3 separate regions of the Homo sapiens genome follow, and all the other regions are linked to region 3. The links are contacts of gene promoters, found by promoter capture Hi-C in human tissues and cell types (Jung and others, 2019). All regions are on one chromosome and are shown on one strand. The core of a region is centred on a gene start or on the middle of the fragment in contact, and the rest is flanking DNA. Distances in the headings are between cores, read along the strand shown. Region 1 overlaps RECK (reversion inducing cysteine rich protein with kazal motifs). Region 2 overlaps RECK (reversion inducing cysteine rich protein with kazal motifs). Region 3 holds the start of OR2S2 (olfactory receptor family 2 subfamily S member 2).

What was found. The method cuts DNA at HindIII sites, captures the fragments that hold promoters and counts their contacts. A contact is called where the count stands out against the background at its distance.
Region 1: a fragment that was not itself captured here is called in contact with the fragment with the promoter of OR2S2 in region 3 in 4 of the 25 tissues and cell types used here (lymphoblastoid cells, mesenchymal stem cells, spleen and 1 more).
Region 2: a fragment that was not itself captured here is called in contact with the fragment with the promoter of OR2S2 in region 3 in 4 of the 25 tissues and cell types used here (IMR-90 fibroblasts, dorsolateral prefrontal cortex, lymphoblastoid cells and 1 more).

Annotation. Positions count from the first base shown.
Region 1 is chr9:36,048,263-36,051,913 of GRCh38, forward strand. The region is part of intron 1 of RECK (reversion inducing cysteine rich protein with kazal motifs); the gene reads left to right. Among named protein-coding and RNA genes, the nearest start is that of RECK, 13 kb to the left of the region's middle. The HindIII fragment of the contact is 4,812 bases long and covers 1-3,651 here.
Region 2 is chr9:36,073,304-36,077,030 of GRCh38, forward strand. The region is part of intron 6 of RECK (reversion inducing cysteine rich protein with kazal motifs); the gene reads left to right. Among named protein-coding and RNA genes, the nearest start is that of RECK, 38 kb to the left of the region's middle. The HindIII fragment of the contact is 8,058 bases long and covers 1-3,727 here.
Region 3 is chr9:35,956,799-35,960,570 of GRCh38, forward strand. It overlaps OR2S2 (olfactory receptor family 2 subfamily S member 2), which reads right to left and starts at 1,356. Exons shown (of 1, transcript NM_019897.2): 1 at 310-1,356. The coding sequence starts at 1,300. The coding sequence ends at 341. The HindIII fragment of the contact is 4,346 bases long and covers 1-3,756 here.

The DNA.
Region 1 (3,651 bases), core at 923-3,422, 92 kb after region 3:
ACAATGCCAACTCTATCCTCTTTTCAGTCTTCTGCGCTCTACAACAGTTACATGCCTCTGATGATTATCGCTATAGCCAATTTATGAATTCCTCTGGAGCCATAATGCTGCTTGGCAACCTTTTTCCTTTTCTCTAATTTGACATTTCTTTCTCTAAGTTGATGAAGCAGTGTTGTTTTGAACACAGGTTTGAGAAACATATTTATAGTTGTTTCCTTTCTCTATTTTCCAAAGTGGCTGTTTCAGGCCTCTATAATTTCAACTCAAGCCCCCAACCCTATCTCAGCCCTATCTATTTTCAGATCTAATCACTATTTCACTGAGAAAATGAGGTGCTGTCAATTTCCCTGTTAATTTATCGGTGTCCTTGAATTCTTTACTCTTGTCTAGATTTTGTCCTACTACCAGGTGGTAACCTGGGTGAAGTTAGAGAGCATAACTTTTGTTCACTATTGTATCCCTATTCCTAAACACAGTGCCTCTTTTAAAACCCACATGCCCTTCCAGGAACCACCTCATTTCTCTATATTCTGTTTTACTTCCAACTGGATATAATGTAATTCAGTTCTGCCACCCAGAATCAGCATCTACCCCGCAAGTTAAAGGGCATGGTCCCCAACAAGATTGCCCTTAATCCAGACACTAGCTTTAGTTCAAGGGTCCCCAGGCCACCCACACTTTTGACCAACTGGCTATAAATCCACGGTTCCCATGACCCCCTCAGGTTCAATAATTTGCTAGACCAACTCACAGAACTCTGGGAAGCACTATACTTTAAATAATGGTTTTAATATAAGGGGTACAATTCAGGAGGACCAGTCAAATAAAGAGCCTCATAGGGTGAGATCTAGGAGGGAATGCAGAGCTTCTATGTCCTCTTATGGAATCAGGTGCATCATCTTCCCAGTACATCAATGTGTTCAACCAGGAAAGCTCCACTGAGCTTCTATGTCCAGAGTATTGATTGGGGTTTCATTACATAGGCATACTTGATTGAATTATTGGTCATATGGTTGAGATCAATCTGCAATCCCCCTTCAATCCCTGGAAGTTGGGAGATCAGGTTGATACCATGTGGCTAAAAGCCCCAGCTCTTTAAACACATGGCTGTTCTTTCTGGTGTTGCCAGCCTCCATCCTGAAACTATCTAGGTCAGGGGTGTCTAATCTTTTGGCTTCCCTGGGCCACACTGGAAGAATTGTCTTATGCCACATGTAAAATACACTAACACTAATGCAAAAAAAAAAAAATCTCGTAATGTTTTAAGAAAGTTTACCAACTTGTGTTGAACCACATTCAAAGCTGGGCCTGGGCCACATGCAGCCCATGGGCCACCGTTTGGGCAAGCTTGATAGGTGAGACCATGGGTCACCTTGTTAGCATAACAAAGACACTCCTATTACTCGGGAAATTCCGGTGATTTAGAGTCTCCCTCCCAGGAACCAGGGAGAAAGGCCAGTCAAATTATTTATTATACAGTGTTCTACAACTGCTCAAAAGTAGACTTCCTCAAAAGAATTGTCTGTATTTTCTTGAATTGTCTCTTGAACTCACTGCAGTCAGGCTTTTGCCCTTTATTTCACATTGATAACATTTATTTAAGGTCATCATCAATATCTTCCACATTGCCAAGTACTGTGATCAGTTTGAAATCCTTATTACTTGATAGCAGTATCTAACATGGTTAACATCTTCTTGAAACATTTTATTTGGCTTTTTGGACACCATTCTTTCTCTTAATTATCTTCCCATACATTGACCGTTCTCACCTGTCTCTGAAGGAGGGAATGCATTGCTCAGTTCTCAGATCTTGTCCTTCCCCAGATGCCATCATGGCTTTAAATATCATCTACATAGTGTGTCTCCCAAATTCCCATCTCCAGTTTGGAGTCTTCCCGAACTCATATATTCAACTCCCTACTCAGTATATTATTTTAGATATATAATAGGCATCTCAAAATTATATCTAAAACTGAATTTCTGATCATCTCTCTCTCTCTGAGATCTCCTCCCTTAGTCTTTTCCATTTCAGTTAATGGTATTTCTAGATATTTCTGTTTTCCCACTTTCTTGGACCAAAAACCTTACAGTCATTCTTAATTCTTTTTCTTCCATATTTCACTTCCAATCCATTAGCATATCCTGTCAGCTTTATATTCATAATATATCCAGATTCGGACTACTTAATACCATCTCCACTGCTGCCACCCTAGTTGAAGACACTACAGTCTCTTATCAAGACTACTTCAATAGCCTATTAGTGTTTCCTCCCTTACTCCTGTGTATTATATTTTTAACACAGGAACCAGAGTGGTCTTTTTAAAATGTTATTCTGATTATGACATGCTGCTCAAAACCCGTGGGTGGTTTTCCATCCTTCTCAGAGTAAAAGCCAAAGTTCTTACCATGGCCTATAGAGACCTGTATGATCTGGTCCCCCTCTCTGATCGCATTATGTCCTACTCTACCCTTCAGTCATTCTTTTCTAGCCACACTCTTTGCTCTTCTTTGAACACACCAGAAACTTTGCACTTGCTGTTTCTGCCTTTTGGAAAATTCATTGTGGCTCGTTCCCTTACTTTATGGTATCTGCTTGAGTGACACCTTTTCAGTGAAGCCTTCCTAGCCTGCCCTATAAAATACCCACTCACTTCCACACACACATCCTCCTTACTCTTTAACTTGTTTTATTATTGCCATAACATTTACCACCATTTCACATTCGTATTCTCTCTCTCTGTCTCCATATATATATATGTATGTGTATATATACATATATAGTTTAATATCTGCTCTTTAAGTTTCAAGAGAACAGACTTATGTTTTTTTGAATGAATGATCAGTGCCTAGTACTTAAGCTGCTCATAAAATTTTTTTAAGTTGATAAATATCTTGGAAGAAGAAGTATTCCCTGTTTCTTTCCAGGGATAGTGCCTTCTCATAAACACTTGGTTTTATCCCCTTTGGAGTCCTCTTGAGACTTGTTCTGTCAGAGGAACATTAGCTCTCTACTGCTCTTTTCTGTCTGTAAAGAAGGTCAAGTCTTTTCCACTCTGAAAAAGGGAGAAAAAATCTTGGAACCTTGCATCTTTGTATAATTACTACTTTGTTTCCTTCCCATCGTTGCTAGACTTCTTATGACTCTATTTTTGATGTCTGTACTTACTCACCTGTGGTTTACTCCTTAATATCATTCACTTCTACCAGTTCCACAGAAAGAACCTGTGAAGCTCACCAAGTGGCTAATTAGTAAACCCATTTCCTTTTTTCATTCTTCAGTCTAACTTGACTCTTGTGGTGCATGACACTACTCCTCCTGTGATGCCACTCTCACGGTTAACCTGCCTTTCTGACTATTCCATCTCAGTCTCTTTCCTTTCTTTCCATATCTCAGATGTTACTCTTCTTTAGAATCTGATGCTATGTTCTCTTCTCACTAGAAACTCTCCCTAGACAATATCATTCATTTCCATATACTCCTTTATGCTGATGAGTTCCAAATTTGGATCTTTAGGCTTGGCTTTACCTGCACTCCAGGCCTGAATTTCTGAGTTTACTGGAATTTCCATCAGGATATTCTATAGGAACCTCAGATTCACATGCTCAAAACAAAATTCACTATCTTTTTATCAGTTGACTTTTTATTATTGG
Region 2 (3,727 bases), core at 919-3,418, 120 kb after region 3:
TTTTCTTGCATTTCTTGTTTGGTTGTACCAATATGATCCTTCCAGGCACATCAACTTAAATGCCTGAGAGGTATTGTCTACTCTTTCCTCTTTCTCATCACCTCCTGCAAATTACTGTCTCTCAAGCCTAAAGAGTTGCCTTCTAAATGTACCTTAAATCAGTCTCCCTTTCAGATCCTCAGGTATTGCCTTAGCTTAGGTCTTTCTGCCACTTTTCTGGATACCTATAATAGCTGCCAAACTAGTTTTCCTGTGTCTAATTTCTCCTCTTATCTACTATATCCACTTCTAGATTAATCTCTTTAAAGACCAAATTTGATCCATGTCACTACCTTCCTTAAACCCTTCAGTTGCTTCCCTGTAGAACACAGCTCATGCTCCTCAGCCCAGTATCCCAAGCTTTTCTCAGTCTAGCTCCTGGTTCTTCTCTCTGTTACATTTAAGCAGCATGCTACTTATAGTTTCCCAGATTGACCCTGTTGTTTTATTTGTTAGTTGTAGTTGTACAAATTGTTTGTTCCACCTGGAATTCCTTCTTCTGAATCTTGGAACAAAAAGTATAGTATATTGGAGCTGGCAATACCAGCTCCCTACCAGCTAGGGAGTACTGCTTGTTAAATATTCAGGGATTTTGCAAGCCAGCTTGTAACTTAAAATCAGCCATGGGTGGAGGTATTTGCAGCGTGAACATCAGCAAATACTGCAAATCCAGATTTTCTCCACAACCACCCCCCACAAAAAAAGCTGGTTCCAGAACATCATTACCTCTATTGAACTAGAGTAACCTTTGCCTTAAATCCTGGTTTAAATGGTACCACTTTAAAGCCTTTCCTGCCCATTCATCTTCTCTCCACACACATAAAATTGATCACTACTTCCAAGCCCTTTGCATGCTTTATTATAGCATTTGTCGCTCTATAGCATAACTATGTTTACATGTCTCTTTTTAAACTAATCCCTGAGTTCCTGGGACAGAGTTCATATAATTATCTTTGTCTCTGTCATTCATTCACTTAACATTCATTGAACTGATACACACTGAACCAATATATTTAATATGTATCAGGCATTGTTCTCAGGGTACAAAAATGAAAGGATTTAGTCTGCAAGAAGCTCATAGTCCATGGGAAGAGAGAAATCCAAATAGTCCATTACAATACAGTGAGACAAGTACATTGCTAGAATGTATTGGAGCCTGGAGGAAAAAACCCTGCCTAGGGAAATGGGGAAGTCTTTCACAGAGCAGGTAAGACTTAAAGGATGAGCAGAAAGCTGTTGCCTGTAACAAAGTGCTACAGTCAGTACTTTTATAGATAGAAAAATTTTATAGACTTTTTCCCACTCTGGAGAACAGAATTATTCAAGGTTCTTTGTAACACAGTATATCAGCTTTACGTGGAAACTCTGTGTAAATGTCTTACACTCTTGGAATGCATGGAGAAAGTGCTCATTTTCTACTGTACTGTGGAGAATGTTTTCATTCTGAGTACTATCTATTATCCCAATAATGTTGTATAGTAAACCATCCCAAAACTCCATAGCTTAAAACAGTAACAATTTATTATTTCTCACAAATCTAAGGGCTTACTAGGCAGTTCTGCTCTGGCCAGGCTTAGCTGATTCCAGCTGGGCACACTCATCTGTCTACAATCAGATGGCAGGTCAGCCTGGGGCTGCCTGCTTTAGGAAGCCCTTGGCTAAGTCAGCTCAGATCTTCTCCATGTTTTCCCCTCCCTTTAGCAGACTAGCTCAGGCATGTTCACGTGGTGGTGGCAGGAGTCCAAGAGAGAAAGTGGAAACATGCAAGTGTAGTTCGGGCAACTGCTTACTCCAAGCTTGCTAGTGTCCACTAGGCCAAAGCAAGGCAAGTCACATGGCTAAGGCCAGAGTTACTGTACAATAAATAGATATAAGGAAATGTGAAAAATTGGGGCCATTACTGTAGTCAGTTCACCACAAGCACATACTCTGTGCTAGGCTGTCTTCTAGACCTTGTGTTTCTCTGCAGATGTTACTTGCCAGTGAATTTGCTTCCAGCTGGTTGGGTGCCCTGTGGTGATAATGAGCAAATTTTTCTGAGCAGTCTAGACCTATAAAGCTCATTTCTGTTTTGAGTGTTCATTTTTATTTGCATATCTGTTGAAATGACACATTATTTGGAAGGCTGAAGAAATTTAATAATCACTTGTTTAGTGATATTTCCAAGTCATGACATTAAACTCCTTACATATTCTAGTCATCTATACTTTTTGACATTCATGGTATCCACAAGGAAAAAACACCTTGTAGAGGTTTAAAAACATTTATGTTTTTAAAGAACAGTTATATTTAACCTCTCCTACTTAGCATTTCATAAGCTGGATTTCTTCTATGAAATGTGAAACTTTAAACTGGAAGAAATTTCAACCCATCTGTGAAAAGGAAACAGATTTTTATTTATTGAGGCCTTAGAAACAAAGTAGCCCCTTTACTTTTAAGTAATAGCATAGTTAAGTAGAAAGTACTGGGCATATAAAACATTAACATAACAGTTAATAAAATGTGCTCTTTTGGGTCTTTGTCCAAAAGTAACTAAATCATCCAAAATTCAAACCTGTAATTTTTTTTTACAAGATTCATATGATCAGTGTTTTGTTGTCATCATCTTTATCATTGATGAAAATGAGAGAGAGCTGGAGTAGTCAGTAGTAAAAGGGCAGTGGACAGAGAAAGGATTGAAACAAGTGGACAAATGGAGGAATGAACCATTTTTTTCAAATCCAAAAGCCAAATCAAATTGGACAGCCAGATATACGTAGCAAGCAAAGGGCAGAGCCAGGGCTAGAACCCGGACTGCCCTACCAGTGCTCTTCCATGACACTGCGTTGTGAGAATAGTCTGGTCTCACTGTATTGCAATGGACTATTTGGATTTCTCTCTTCTGAATGCACCCAAAGCAAGGTTGAATGTTTGTTCATAGATTAATCTATTTAACCAGTTTCCTATTTTAAAAATCAATAGAAAAGGGTCACTGAAGTGGCAGAAAATAAATTGCAGAGCGAACTTCTGGGCTAGAGGTTGGACCAGCAGAGTCTACTTCCCAGGTGCACCCAAAGGGTCTTCCCCACCAAAAGGAAAACCAGTGTGGCATGAAGGATCACATAGGGTTCCCTCAACTTTGATTTACTCTGTTTTTGTGCCAGGTTTGCCCACAGTTCATATGCTCCCAACAGTGGATCAAAGGGCTTGTACTACCTGGAATTCCCTCTTCCTGAATCCATCCTAACACACCCCCACCTAGTAATATATTGGAGCTGACATCTACCAGCTTGGGAGTACTAATTGTCAAATATTCAGGAATTTAATCGCGAGAGTAGGGCAGGGAACTAGTTATTGAGAGCAGCTACCAGAGGAAAGATTTTAGGATCAAAAATAATTTTTTTAGGATCAAAATATTTTTAAGGAAAATAATATTAACCTCAAGAAAATGGTGACCTTTTTTGGTTACAATTTAAGGAGCTGATTTTAAAAATAGGGGACTGGTTAAATAGATTACTCTGTGAACAAACATTCAACCTTGCATTGGCTGCATTGAGAAAAACAACCCAGACTATTCTCAGTGCAGTGTCATGGAAGAGCACTGGCAGGGCAGTCTGGGTTCCAGCCCTGGCTCTGCCCTTTGCTTGCTTATACATATCTGGCTCTCCAACTAGATAGTGACAGCTTTTGGATTTGAAGTTCTCTTGAG
Region 3 (3,772 bases), core at 106-2,605:
TTGCTGTGAGAACATTCTCACGTCCCTGTTCTAACTCTAGAGCTGAGACACTCTAAGGGCCATGCGTCATGCTTTCATGGCTGCTGTCTCGTGTGGTTTTACCGTATGTTCAGAATGCCTTCATCACAGTTGATTATTTATTGAGTCTGGTGTCTGTTGAAGCTGTCAGACATAGGACTAAAACTCAGGAGATATCGTCTGAAAAGTTTAATATCTCCTGCAAATGGACTTAGAGTGAGAAACCATTATAGGTCACATGACTTGGCTTTTGAATGGCAGCTGATGTGATTGTGATTCCTTACTTCCATGTGGGTGACAATCACAGAGGACCCTTCCACCATCACTGAGTGAAGCCTTTTGGTCTCAGCAGTCTCCTCACAGCAGCCTTCACATCCTTGTTCCTCAGGCTATAGATGATGGGGTTGAGCATCGGGGTCACCACCCCATAGAAAAGGGGGATGAGTTTGTCTGAAAGATCCTCTTTGTCTGCTCCCATGGAGTCCTTAGACTTAGGCTTCCCATACATGAAGAATAAGGTCCCGTAGAAGACGATCACCACGGTGAGGTGGGCAGAGCAGGTGGAGAAGACCTTTTTCCTCCCCTCAGCTGAGGGGATCCTCAGGATGGTGGTGATGATGAAGACATAGGAGAAAGAGATGAACAGAACCGGGACTCCTAGGAAGATCACATTCGTCACCTCCATGCTGATCACATTGATGGAAATGTCAGCACAGGCCAACTTTAGAACAGCCAGAATCTCACAGGTGAAGTGGTTGATGACATTGTCTCCACAGAAGGGCAGCTGAATTGCCAAGGATGTGTGTACCACGGAAGCAGCACCACCAATAGCCCAGGAGCTGGCAGCCATGGGCATGTAGGCAGCCTTGCTCATGATCACGGAGTACCTAAGGGGGTTGCAGATGGCCACATAGCGATCAAATGCCATCATGCTCAGGAGCAAGCACTCTGTTCCTGCCATGGCAAAGGAGAGTGCCATCTGCACAGCACAGGCTGAGAAGGAGATGGTTTCCTGGGGAGTCAAAAAGCTGTCCAGGACCAGTGGGACTGAGGAGGTAGTGAAGCAGATGTCCAGGAAGGAGAGGTTCCCTAGGAAGAAGTACATGGGCGTGTGCAGGCGGGAGTCAAGGATGGTCACCAGGATGAGGACCCCATTGCCCAGCAGGATCACGAGGTACATCAGCAGGATGAGCACGAAGAATGTCTTTTCCAGCTCTGGGTGGGCAGAGAGCCTCAGGAGAACGAACCCCATCACAGGGGAGGTCTCATTGGCTTTTTCCATGTGATATCCCCTCTGCCATCAGCAAAGTACTGAGCAGCGCATCAGGCTTTTTGGGAAGAGTCCTAGGCATCTAATATGTGGTCAAGTTCCCATTGCATAATAGAAGAACATATCTGTGCAAGAGAAAAATGACGGAAAGAGACAGTAGGGGGTGTCTTAGAAGACAGAAGGTCAGAGCTGGACAGGTAGTGGGTGAGGGCCTCAAATGTCCGGTTGTGCATGAGGGATTTTTCTGAAGTTGCTGCACCCTCTCAGTGTCCACAAAGGTGATAGAGGCCTGGGGAGGAGAAGTGACCTGTCCAAATCTTCTGAGCAAGTTGGTGACAGAGACAAGACTTGAACCCAGCAGAGCATATCCCTGGCCCAAGGAGGGCTTTTCCTCTTCATTGTGATTAAGTGCTAGGAAATGCTATGAATTATTTCTCTTTAATGCAAATCCACAGCAATTTCATTTGATCTGGGCTTTCTTAGATTCTCAGAGAGGAAAATTCCCAAGAAGATGCAATTCTTGGACCTAGCAAGTGATTAAGTTTCTTTAAACTTTGATTACACGTGGGGAGGAAATTGCGCAAAATTGTTCAACCATATTCACACAGAAACAAGCCTAGTTAATATTCAGCCATAAAGAGCATTACTTCTTCAGTCTAGTGACACAGGCTTGAGCATTGACAGGAATAGATCTGCCTATTTGAAATATGGATTTATTGCAATATATGGGGAGGTCCTATAGCTGGGAAATTTATGAAGCCAACAAATGGATTTGTTGGAGTGACTGAACTCACACCATGAGACAACACTGTGTAGCTTACCAGTTAGTTAATGCAATATTAATAACCACACTCTAACTATAGTTATCGATAGTAGAGTATATGGCATTAACTTCTGATCCCATCTCATTAGGATGTCTGTGAAATTCCTAACCGTGAATGACTAAGAATGTTTTTTCTTTGTCCTTTTATGTTTGCATTTTATTCTTGCATTATCTTCTGACTCTCTGACTCCATTCTTGAGTTCTATGCAAGCAGCTGGCTTATAGGAAGACTTATATGCCTTTGTATAGAGGATATCTAGTCTCTTACTTGCAATTTCCCTGACTCTAAATTCAAAGTACTCATAGATAATATTTTGATAGCTCCTTCTTAATGACAGTGGCTCTATGAGTGTGTATAAGAGTGGGTGGATGATGGAAGATGAGTGGTTAATATTAATATTAGTGAGAATATTAGGGATTCTCACTAATATTAAGGAATATAAGCTGTGCCATATTTCTTGAAACAGCTCATGGAGAAGATATTATCATTCAGGTTTTACAGGTGAAGTAACTGGAGCTCAGAAGATAAATTTGCTCCTTGGGGTTGAATGGCAGAGCTGGAGTTGGATTCCAAGACCTAGTCCTGAGTTCTTTCACGAAACAGCTGCTTTTCTCTTTTGGTGCACAGCTTTGCAAAAGATTCTGTCCCTCCAATATTAGACAGATCTTATAGTCCTATTTATAATTTTCTCTGTGCTAATATTGCTATAGCATAATGATAAATTAAAAGGACAAAGTCAAACTTGTACACACTGTTATGATCTCAATTAGCTCTGTGTATTCTCTGGCCAGTCTCACTGTCTGTCCAACACTCTCTCTTCAGTCATGGGGGAGGGTTTATGTCAGATGTGTTGTCAGGCAGTGCACCTCCCACCCTAAATGGAACTCAGGGTTTCTCAAATTCTTTACGATTGACATTTTGTGCTGGATAACCCTTTGGTGTGAGGGCTGTCCTGTGCATTGTAGGATGTTTAGCAGAGTCTCTGACCTCCACCAATCAGTTGCCAATAGCACCTTCTACCCTGAGTTGTAACAATCAAAATGTTTCCAGACGCTGCCACATGCTTCCAGGGGAAAGGTGTGTGTGTTGGGGCGGGGGGGGGGGGGTTGGCGGGGGGGACGGTGCAAAATTATACCCAGAAGAGAACGATTGGTCTAACCCAGGAGAAGCTTCCCCCATTACACAACCATGGGTCTCAAGGTATTTCCTGTGCAATCCTATTCCCCTCTTCCCATCCCTTCATACAGCACAGAAGGGTGTTCCTGGTTGCTCAGTGCAAGCTGACCCCCTCTGAGTGCCCCACCCTGAACTTCCACCCCAGCTTATCTCCTGTTCCTCCTAGTGCACCTCTCACCCACTCCAGAAAATGAAGAAAAGCAAACATTATATTCAGTGCCACAAACCAGATTCAAGCAGATGCTGTGGTTGCAGAGGCCAAGGAAAGTGATTTCTGTTAGGGAAGCCACACTGCGCATTCCCACAAGATAAATCTATGCACACAGAAGTTTCTATCCATGAATAACATCCTGTGGGCATGAATGATGCGTGGGATTTGGCCTCCTTGAGAGCTGCCTCTGTGGAAGCCTCTGTCTGTTATGAAAAGTTGCTGAGTACATTTGTTTAATTGAAATGAACTGTACAGCTGGGAAGACTCTGCACT